Linked DNA regions of Homo sapiens: region 2 is linked to region 1. The links are contacts of gene promoters, found by promoter capture Hi-C in human tissues and cell types (Jung and others, 2019). All regions are on one chromosome and are shown on one strand. The core of a region is centred on a gene start or on the middle of the fragment in contact, and the rest is flanking DNA. Distances in the headings are between cores, read along the strand shown. Region 1 holds the start of NUDT13 (nudix hydrolase 13). Region 2 overlaps MCU (mitochondrial calcium uniporter).

Evidence for each region. Contacts are between HindIII fragments. The study calls those that stand out against the background at their distance.
Region 2: a contact is called between a fragment that was not itself captured here and the fragment with the promoter of NUDT13 in region 1, in 1 of the 25 tissues and cell types used here (dorsolateral prefrontal cortex).

What each region holds. Positions count from the first base shown.
Region 1 is chr10:73,108,327-73,113,376 of GRCh38, reverse strand. It overlaps NUDT13 (nudix hydrolase 13), which reads right to left and starts at 2,922. Exons shown (of 9, transcript NM_015901.6): 1 at 2,810-2,922. The HindIII fragment of the contact is 13,958 bases long and covers 1-4,142 here.
Region 2 is chr10:72,698,799-72,703,848 of GRCh38, reverse strand. The region is part of intron 1 of MCU (mitochondrial calcium uniporter); the gene reads right to left. Among named protein-coding and RNA genes, the nearest start is that of MCU, 9.2 kb to the right of the region's middle. RefSeq lists a silencer at 353-442. The HindIII fragment of the contact is 4,583 bases long and covers 620-5,050 here.

The sequences.
Region 1 (5,050 bases), core at 1,673-4,172:
TGTAAACTGGTATGATATTTTTACAGGTTGATTTGGAAATATCTATTAAAGTGTCAAATAATAAGCCTCTCTTTTTCCTCAGCAATTCCATGTTTAGGAATTTACCCTAGGAAGGAAAGGATATGTACAAGAACGTTAACTGAAAATTATGATAAAATGGATTAATACGCGACTTAAGAACAAATAGAAGGGCTGGGTGCGGTGGCTCACGCCTGTAATCCCAGCACTTTGGGAGGCCGAGGCGGGCGGATCACCCGAGGTCAGGAGTTCGAGACCAGCCTCACCAACATGGAGAAACCCCATCTCTACTAAAAATACAAAATTAGCTGGGCGTGGTGGCACACGCTTGTAATCCTGCCTACTTGGGAGGCTGAGGCAGGAGAATCGCTTGAACCTAGGAGGCAGAGGTTGCAGTGAGCAGAGATCGTGCCATTGCACTCCAGCCTGGGCAACAAGAGCAAAACGTCGTCTTAAAAAAAAGAAAAAGAACAAATAGAAAATAATATAACAGTGAAAAAAATATATATATATAGTAACAGGGAGAGAGACTTAGAACACATTATTAAGTAAACAAAAAAAGCAAGGAGGAATTGGAGGTGATACTAGTCAAAGTGTACAAAGTTTCAGTTAGGATGAATAAATTCTGGATATCTATTGTGTTGTATGGTAACTATAGTTCATAATATATTATATACTTGGAAATTACTAAGAAAGTAGATATTAAATATTCTCAACACACACAAAAAATGTGAGGTGATGAATATATTAATTTGCTAGATTTAATCATTTCACAATGTATACCTGTATCAAAACATCACATTGTAAACTATAAATATATACTTTTTTTGTCAAAAAGTATATATTATACTTTAATACCTTAATATTATACCTTAATAAAGCTGGAGAAAAAAACAGGTAACAGTTGGTTAACATGACCTAATTATTTATAAAAAAAAGGACACAGACATACCAATATACATAAATTATATGTATTTAATTATATTTTTCTTTCTATTTTTTTTTGAGACGGAGTTTCGCTCTTGTTGCCCGGGCTGGAGTGCAATGGCGCAATCTCGGCTCACCGCAACCTCCACCTCCCGGGTTCAAGCGATTCTCCTGCCTCAGCCTCTCGAGTAGTTGGGATTACAGGCATACGCCACCACGCCTAGCTAATTTTGTATTTTTTTTAGTAGAGATGGGGTTTCTCCATGTTGGTCAGGCTGGTCTCGAACTCCTGTTCTCAGGTGATCTGCCTGCCTGGGTCTCCCAAAGTGCTGGGATTACAGGCAAGAGCCACTGCCCCCGGCCTTATTTATATTTTTCAAATGACTAGAAGTATACATACCAAACTATTAAAGAGTGACTAATTTGGGGGAGTGGGATGAAGACAAATATTGAAAAAGGTGCCTGTAATTTTTATTTTGTTCATTTTTCTGTACTGAAAAAAAAATTAGCCATGTGTACTTATTCCTTTTAAGACAAAAGAAAAGCCTAATAAAATAGTAGTTCCTGAGACTAACTGGTTAATGAGGCTACCTCCATGCCACTGTTCCCCAAAACACCTCACCATATTCCATGAGCCAAAGGGAATTCATTTGGTGAGTTTCTTGGACCTTGGGAACTGCTGCCTGATGTTTTGCCTAGTTTCTGCTACTAAATTAACCTTAGCCAGTTGTAGATTATCATGGCTGCTGACTCATGAGCTGATGGTCACAGAGCTATTTATGTTTTTAAAAGTACAATGTTTGATAGAGATGAAAGGTAATAGCAGTCTTACCCAACTACTAAATGATGAGGCAAGGTGCTTTAACATTAAGAGTTTCTTTGAACTCCCCAACACAAATGATTCACACGTTTCTTATCCTGTTCATCTTTCCAGAAGAAAGATTATAAAGTACTACAGCGTGACAAAAAAGCCCATCTTGTAGTGAGCCGAGATCGCGCCACTGCACTCCAGCCTGGGCGACAGAGCGAGACTCCGTCTCAAAACAAAAAAACAAAACAAAACAAGACAAAACAAAAAAAGCCCATCTTGAATCTAGTGGTTACTTCCACCGTGAAGAGGCCAGGTTCCCTAGTATTTAAGAGACCTTTTTTTAGGCCGGGCGCGGTGGCTCACGTCTGTAATCCCAGCACTTTGGGAGGCCGAGGTGGGCGGATCACGAGGTCAGGAGATCGAGACCATCCTGGCTAACACGGTGAAACCCCGTCTCTGTTAAAAATACAAAAAAAAGTGGCTGGGCGTGGTGGCGGGCGCCTGTAGTCCCAGCTACTAGGGAGTATGAGGCAGGAGAATGGCATGAACCCAGGAGGCGGAGCTTGCAGTGAGTGGAGATCGTGTCACTGCACTCCAGCCTGGGCGACCAAGTGATACTTCGCCTGTGTTTAGAGTCCGTTTCTCCACGACTGTGGACCTCCATGGGACAGGGAAATATGGAAAACTGAGGAACCACGGGAATACAGCTTTGAAGGTCTCACTGACCTGCTTTATAGTTTGCTTTCTAAAAAATAATTTTCCCTCCTTTAAAAAAAAATAAAAATTAAGGCACAATGTGAGAGGTTGGCAAGTTCCATTTTTAAATGACTCTCCAAAAAAGTATCAGAAAATGATGAGCTGTGGTTACTGATGTAGCTCCACAGTTATGAGGCAAAACTATGGTTATATCCCTGGTTTCTGCAAAAAGGAAGAGATTAAGCTAAAATGTTAAAATGCTGTGACCACGACCTTTTTTCAAGTTCTGATCATGCCTCCCTGTGAAGTCCTTCCTGCACTTAGAAGCTGAGCAGGTTTCTGTTTCACTGTACTCACTCTGAATTCTTTTCGGGGCACCTTCCTAGTCCTCAGGAATCAGCACAAAAGAGGAAACTCCAAATGTTCACGTTCAACGGCTTCCGTTCCCTGGAGGGACCATTGCTGCTTCTGCCACACTTCCCAGAATCCTCCTAGAGATGCACTCTGGGAATTGTAGTTCAGTTCCCAGGCATGCTGCTGTGTTCTCCAGCTGCAAGTTAACCATGATTGTCAAAAGCATGAACATCTAAGATCTTATTACCAAGAGAACTACTGTATCCTTGGAGAAAGTAGGTTAGTATTAGATCCATTTTTTAATTAAAAAAAGATAAAGTCATTAAGTCCACCCTCATACACAGAAGGCATATATTATGAGGCTGGGGAGAGGATGAAGCAGGGGTGGGAATCAAATACCTTTTAACCTTAGTATATCTCTAGTTCTCTCTCTGCACACTTTAGAACTAGCTCTAAAATTTCATGAAGTTCTTCCAATTTAAAAGGATGGGACTCTGTATAGGTATGTATAGATATGTTTGAACTTATGGTAGGATTCATTTCTTGATCAGAGGAAGCGCATTCCATTTGACTGGAAGTAGTCTCCTAGAAGTGTGTCCGGAGTTGGTTCCTTCCAGTGGGTTCTTGGTCTTGCTGACTTCAAGAATGAAGCCGTGGAGCTTTCGGTGAGTGTTATAGCTCTTAAAGGTGGCACGAACCCAAAGAGTGAGCAGCAGCAAGATTTATTGTGAAGAGCGAGAGAACAAAGCTTCCACAGCGTGGAAGGGGACCCGAGTAGGTTGCCGCTGCTGTTGGGGGTGCCAGCTTTTATTCCCTTATTTGTCCCTGCCCACATCCTGCTGAATGGTCCATTTTACAGAGCACTGATTGGTCCATTTTATGGAGTGCTGATTGGTCCATTTGACAGAGTGCTGATTTGTGCATTTACAATCCTTTAGCTAGACACAGAGTGCTGATTGGTGCGTTTTTACAGAGTGCTGATTGGTGCGTTTACAATCCTTTAGCTAGACACAGTGCTGATTGGTGCATTTACAATCCTTTAGCTAGACACAGAGTGCTGATTGGTGTGTTTACAATCCTTTAGCTAGACACAGAGCACTGATTGGTGCATTTTTACAGAGTGCTGATTGGTGTGTTTACAATCCTTTAGCTGGAAACAGAGTGCTGATTGGTGCGTTTACAATCCTTTACCTAGACACAGAGCGCTGATTGGTGCATTTTTACAGAGTGCTGATTGGTGTGTTTACAATCCTTTAGCTGGACACAGAGTGCTGATTGGTGCATTTTTACAGTGTGCTGATTGGTGCATTTACAATTCTCTAACTAGACAGAAAAGTTCACCAAGTCCCCACTCCACCCAGGAAGTCCAGCTGGCTTCACCTCTCAGCAGAGCTACTTTGGTGCTGCTCTCTTCTCGTTTTACTACTGAAGTTACTTGCCTATGAGAGAAGACACTTTTTTTTTTTTTGAGATGGAGTTGCTCTGTCGCTCAGGTTGGAGAGCAGTGGTACGTACAATCTTGGCTTACTGAAACCTCCTCCTCCGGAGTCAAGTGATTCTCCTGCTTCAGCCTCCCGAGCAGCTGGGATAACAGGTGCACACCACCATGCCTGGCTAATTTTTGTATTTTTAGTAAAGCCAGGGTTTCGCCATGTTGACCAGGCTGTCTTAAACTTCTGACCTCAAGTGATCCACTCGCCTCAGCCTTCCAAAGTGCTGGGATTACAGGCGTGAGCCACCGCACCCAGCCAAGAGAAGAAGTCCACTCATTCAACATGTATTTAATGAGTACCCAATGTGCCTAGGACTGTTATAGGGATAGGATACAGCAGGGAACAAAACATGAAAATCTCTGTCCTCATGTAACTTACATTCTAGAAGGGGAAACAAACGAGTAAATATACAATGTGTCGTGGTTATAAAGCTTAAGAAGAAAAATAAAGCAAGATAAGTAGAGGGATTATTTTGCTATTTTATATAGGATGGTCAGCCTCATTGTTAAGATAATATTTAAACAAAGACCCTGAAGAAGGTGATGAAGAAACCAAATTTATATCTATGGAAAGAGATTTGTAGACAGAGCAAAATAAGCATATGCAAAGGCCCTGGGGTGGGAGTGTGCCGTTTGAGGAAAGGCTAGGAAAGAGCATGGTGATCAGAGATGAGATCAGAGTAGGCCGGGCATGGTGGCTCATGCCTGTAATCCCAGCACTTTGGGAGCCCGAGGTGGGCACATCATTTGAG
Region 2 (5,050 bases), core at 1,662-4,161, 410 kb after region 1:
TCTCTGCTCACTGCAGCCTCTGCCTCCTGGGTTCAAGCAATTCTCACGTCTCAGCCTCTGGAGTAGCTGGGATTATAGGTGTATGCCACCATGCTAGGCTAATTTTTGTATTAGGTTGGTTTCACCATGTTGCCCAGGCTGGTCTCAAACTCCTGGCCTCAAGTGATCTGCCTGCCTCCACCTCCCAAAGTGCTGGGATTACAGGTGTGAGCCACCATGCCCAGCCACTTTTCTTTAGTTTTATGTGTGTACAATGCACACACATAACTGGGTTACAGTGTAAAATGTACTTCTACTGTGGGCTGAGTTAAAAACAAAACATAAAAACACTGACCTACAGAACAAAATTTCAATTTCTTCAGAAGTCCCTTCATAGTCTGATCCCTCACCACAGAAACAGTGGTTAAGAGACAGGATCTGAAGCCACTGTTTGGGGGTTTATATGCTAGGTGTGACATCTGCTAGCTGTGTGATCATGGTTAAGTCATTTACTGTGTGTCACTTAACAGCTGTGACTCTGGGCAAATCATTTAACTCAGTGGGTAACTTAGTTTCACTATCTATAAAATGAGGATAAAAACAGTACCTGGGTCATAGTGTATCACAAGAATTAAATGAGATAATCTATGTAAAATTCTTGGCACATGATATACTTGAAAAATATTATCATTGGTATAACTACTATTGTCCAGCCTAATCTCCAGCTATTCTTGCGCATACTCCAGTTGTAACAAACCAGTGGCTGCTTCTCAAATACATCTTACTCCCTCATGAGGTCATGTCAGATTGGTGCTGCCCAGAATGCTGACCACACTTTTCCAGTCACATTATATTTCCAAATGTTTGCTTTTTTTTTTTTTTTCTTTTTTTGAGACACAGTTTCGTTCTTGTTGTCCAGGCTGGGGTGCAATGGCACCATGTCAGCTCACTGCAACCTCTGCCTCCCGGTTCAAGTGATTCTCCTGCCTCAGCCTCCTGAGTAGCTGGGATTACAGGCGCACACCACCACACCCAGCTAATTTTTGTATTTTTTTAGTAGGGATGGGGTTTCACCATGTTGGCCAGGCTGGTCTTGAGCTCCTGACCTCAGGTGATCCACTCGCCTCAGCCTCCCAAAGCGTTGGGATTACAGGCGTAGCCACTGCACCTGGCCCCAAATGTTTCCTCTTAAGCAAGACCTCTTCTGTGAAGCCTTCCTCAGCTCTCACAGGTAGGTCCCAAGTGCTCCCGCTGAACATTCTTTAGAAAAAAAAGAAGCACAGCCATTTATAGTCTGTTTGTACAATGTCTCCTGGCCAGACTGTGAACTCTTTTAGGACCACCACAAAGGCATCTCTCTCTCCAATGCCCTGGGCAGTGCCTCACAAAATGCAGGAGTTCCACAGATATTTTCTGAATGTCTCCAGGTTACCAAACCCTTCTAAGTCTTCATTTTCCATCTGTACAATGGGAATAGTATTTTGCCAGAAGGACTGTTGTAGAGTACACTAGAGAATGTTATAAAAGTATCTGGTATAGAAGCAACTCAGTAATTACCAGGTTTACTGGATGGGACTTATTTTTTTCTTTTTCTTCTTCTTTTTTTTTTCTTTTTTTTTGAGACAGAGTTTTGCTCTGTCGCCCAGGCTGGAGTGCAGTGGTGCGATCTCGGGTCACTGCAACCTCTGCCTCCTGGGTTCCAGCAATTCTCCTGCCTCGGCCTCCCAAGTGGCTGGAATTATGGCGCCCCCCTCCCCCCCAACCATGACTGGCTAATTTTTTTTGTATTTTTAATAGAGATGGGGTTTCACTATGTTGGTCAGGCTGGTCCTGAACTCCTGACCTCAGGTGATTCCCCCATCTCAGTATCCCAAAAGGCTGGGATTACAGGCATGAGCCACAGCGCCCGGCTGGGTGGGACATTTTAGAAATCCAAACTAAATTAGGAATATCTCCAAGAAGCACATATCTTAGACCTCTAACAGCTAACACCGGGAGGGGAGGGTGAGGAAAGAAATTTAAGAAATGTAGTCAGTGGGGGCCGGGCACGGTGGATCACGCCTGTAATCCCAGCATTTTGGGAGGCCGAGGCAGGAAGATCATGAGGTCAGGAGATCGAGACCATCCTGGCTAACATGGTGAAACCCCATCTCTACTAAGAAGAAAATACAAAAAATTAGCCGGGCGTGGTGGTGTGTACCTGTAGTCCCAGCTACTCGGGAGGATGAGGCAGGAGAATGACTTGAACCTGGGAGGCGGAGCTTGCAGTGAGCCGAGATCGCACCACTGCACTCCAGCCTGGGCGACAGAGTAAGACTCCGTCTCAAAACAACAAGAAATGTAGTCAGTAGGAAGGATGTCGAGATCTCTTGAAGGAAAACAGCAGCAGATACTTGAGGAAGAACATGCTAAAGGAGCAGAAAGGAAAAGGAAGGATGACCCACACTGACACCCAGAACAGTACAGTTCTCACTCTAGCCAGACTCAGGCTTAAATCCAAAACATGCGTCCTGCCTTTCAGTGCATCCCTAGCACTAAACCAGTTTATGACACTTAAATCTATAAAACTGGGTTAATACCTCTCATAGGGTTATAGTAAAAATTAAATGAAGTAACAATGTCCTCAGGTCTTAGATGGTTTCTTCTATATCTATTCCTCTATCTATAGAAACCAAGTGGTTCAAGCTAACCTATATGCTCTCTTATTATCTGACAATTTATCAGTCATACTAACTTTCTCTGAACTAAAGTTTAAAGCAGATATTAATACAGTGCTCTTAAACATCCTCTTACATTACTTATCATAGAAAAGAGGTACAAAGTAGGCGTGTCTCAGCAGACAAAAAAGAAGTTTAAATGATATTGATACCTACAAGGCAGTACACTTCAGGACTGTACATTTCTAACTGTCGTCTACACAGTCTCAAACACCTAATGGACTCCTCAGTAGTTTTCTGATGATTATTACAAACACTCCCTAAACAATAAAGTGGAAAATAAATAGCAAGAAAAAATACATAAAAACTGAAAACTTCAGGAACAAAGCATAAAAATTAATACCCACTCTTCTGGATTAATAAATAGTATTAACATCATTAAAGAACCTTTGGAAAAGGCTCATATCTTTGAGATGTCAAAATGCGATGTCATATCATCAAATTATTCCAGAACTGCATTAGAAAAAGTTCCACCTTTAGCATGCTTTAGACCCAATTGGTGAAAAAATTTATGAAGTTATATTTTTATCAATATAAAAGATTCAAGTGTGTACACAGTTTTTGGACCAATAATTCACTAAACTTATTAAAATTAATTTGCTTGAAGCCAACTTTCATTTTTACACAAGCTAACTGCAAGCATTTAACAAAGTGCAGTGAAATAAATGCATTGTTTTCCTTTTGTGTTCAACCTACAGAGGAAAGGTTTTTTAACAGTTATTATCAAGCTTAATCTAAATTAGAGAGTAATTATTCAAGACTGACTTTGACGTTAGGTACTTTAAGAATTTGGCCGGGCACAGTGGCTCACGCCTTGTAATCCCAACACTTTCCAAGGCTGAAGTGGGGGGATCACCTGAGGCCAGGAGTTCAAGACCAGCCTGGCCAACATGGCGAAATCCTGTCTCCAATAAAAATACAAAAAATTAGCCCAGCATGGTGGCAGGTGCCTGTAATCCCCGCTACTCAGGAGGCTGAGACAGGAGAATCGCTTGAACTCTGGGGGCAGAGGCTGTAGTGAGCCGAGATCACACCATTGCACTCCAGCCTGGGCAACAACAGCGAAACTCCATCTCAAAAAAAAAAAAAAAAAATTTGACCCCAATCCACTTTTTAGAACCACTCTCAGCTTAAGTGTTTTAAATGAAACAAAGAATTGTGTAATTTAGTAGGAAAAGAATTGAATAGGAAAATGAGAAGATGCGTGACCCATTTCCAGTTCTGTATTAAGATGCTGAGCTACTAAGAAAAAAACCATTTCGGCCGGGCGCAGTGGCTCACACCTGTAACCCCAGTACTTTGGGAGGCCAAGACACGCAGATCATCTGAGGTCAGTAGTTCGAGACCAGCCTAACCAACATGGCAAAACCCCATCTCTACTAAAAATACAAAAATCGGCAGGGGGCGGTGGCGCACACCTGTAGTCCCAGCCACTCAGGAGGCTGGGGCAGCAGAATCACTTGAACCCAGGAGACAGAGACTGCAGAGAGCAGAGATAGCGCCACTGCACTCCAGCATGGACGACAGCGTGACTCCATCTCAATAAAAAAAAAAAAAAAAGCCATTTCACCACTCATACTCTTGTTTCCTCAATATAAGGTCTTACTGAACTCTAATCACTAAGGTTCTTTTTTTTCCCTTTTTCCGGGACGGAGTGTTGCTCTGTCACCCAGGCTGGAGTGCAGTGGCATGATCTCGGCTCACTGCAACCTCCGTCTCCCGGATTCAAGCAATTCTCCTGCCTCAGCCTCCCGAGTAGTTGGGATTACAGGCGCGCACCACCACACCCAGCTAATTTTTTTGTATTTTTAGTAGAGACGGGGTTTCACCATATTAGTCAGGCTGGTCTCGAACTCCTGACCTCATGATCCGCCCGCCTCGGCCTCCCAAAGTGCTGGGATTACAGGCATGAGCCACTACGGCTGGCAAACGTTTAAGATTCTTTAAAGTGCACAACTTCCACAGTAACATCTTAGTTTTCCTAACATGTTATCCTAGTAATTCTAATATATCCATGAGCCATGGTATGGCATTAATCAAAGAATAAAGAGTCCGGGCACGGTGGCTCACCCTATAATCCCAGTACTTTGGGAGGCCAAGGCAGGAGGACTGCTTGAGCCGAGGAGTTCAAGACCAACATGGGCAACATAGTGAGACTTCATCTCTACAAAAAATTTAAAAATTAGCCCAGTGTGGTGGATTGTGCCTGTAGTCCTAGCTATTCAAAAGGCTGAGGTCGGAGGATCACTTAAGCCCAGGAGTTCAAGGCTGCGGTGAGCCATGATCAGACTACTATACTTCAGCCTGGGCAACAGAGTAAGACCTCGTCTCAAAAAAAAAGAATAAAGGGCTGA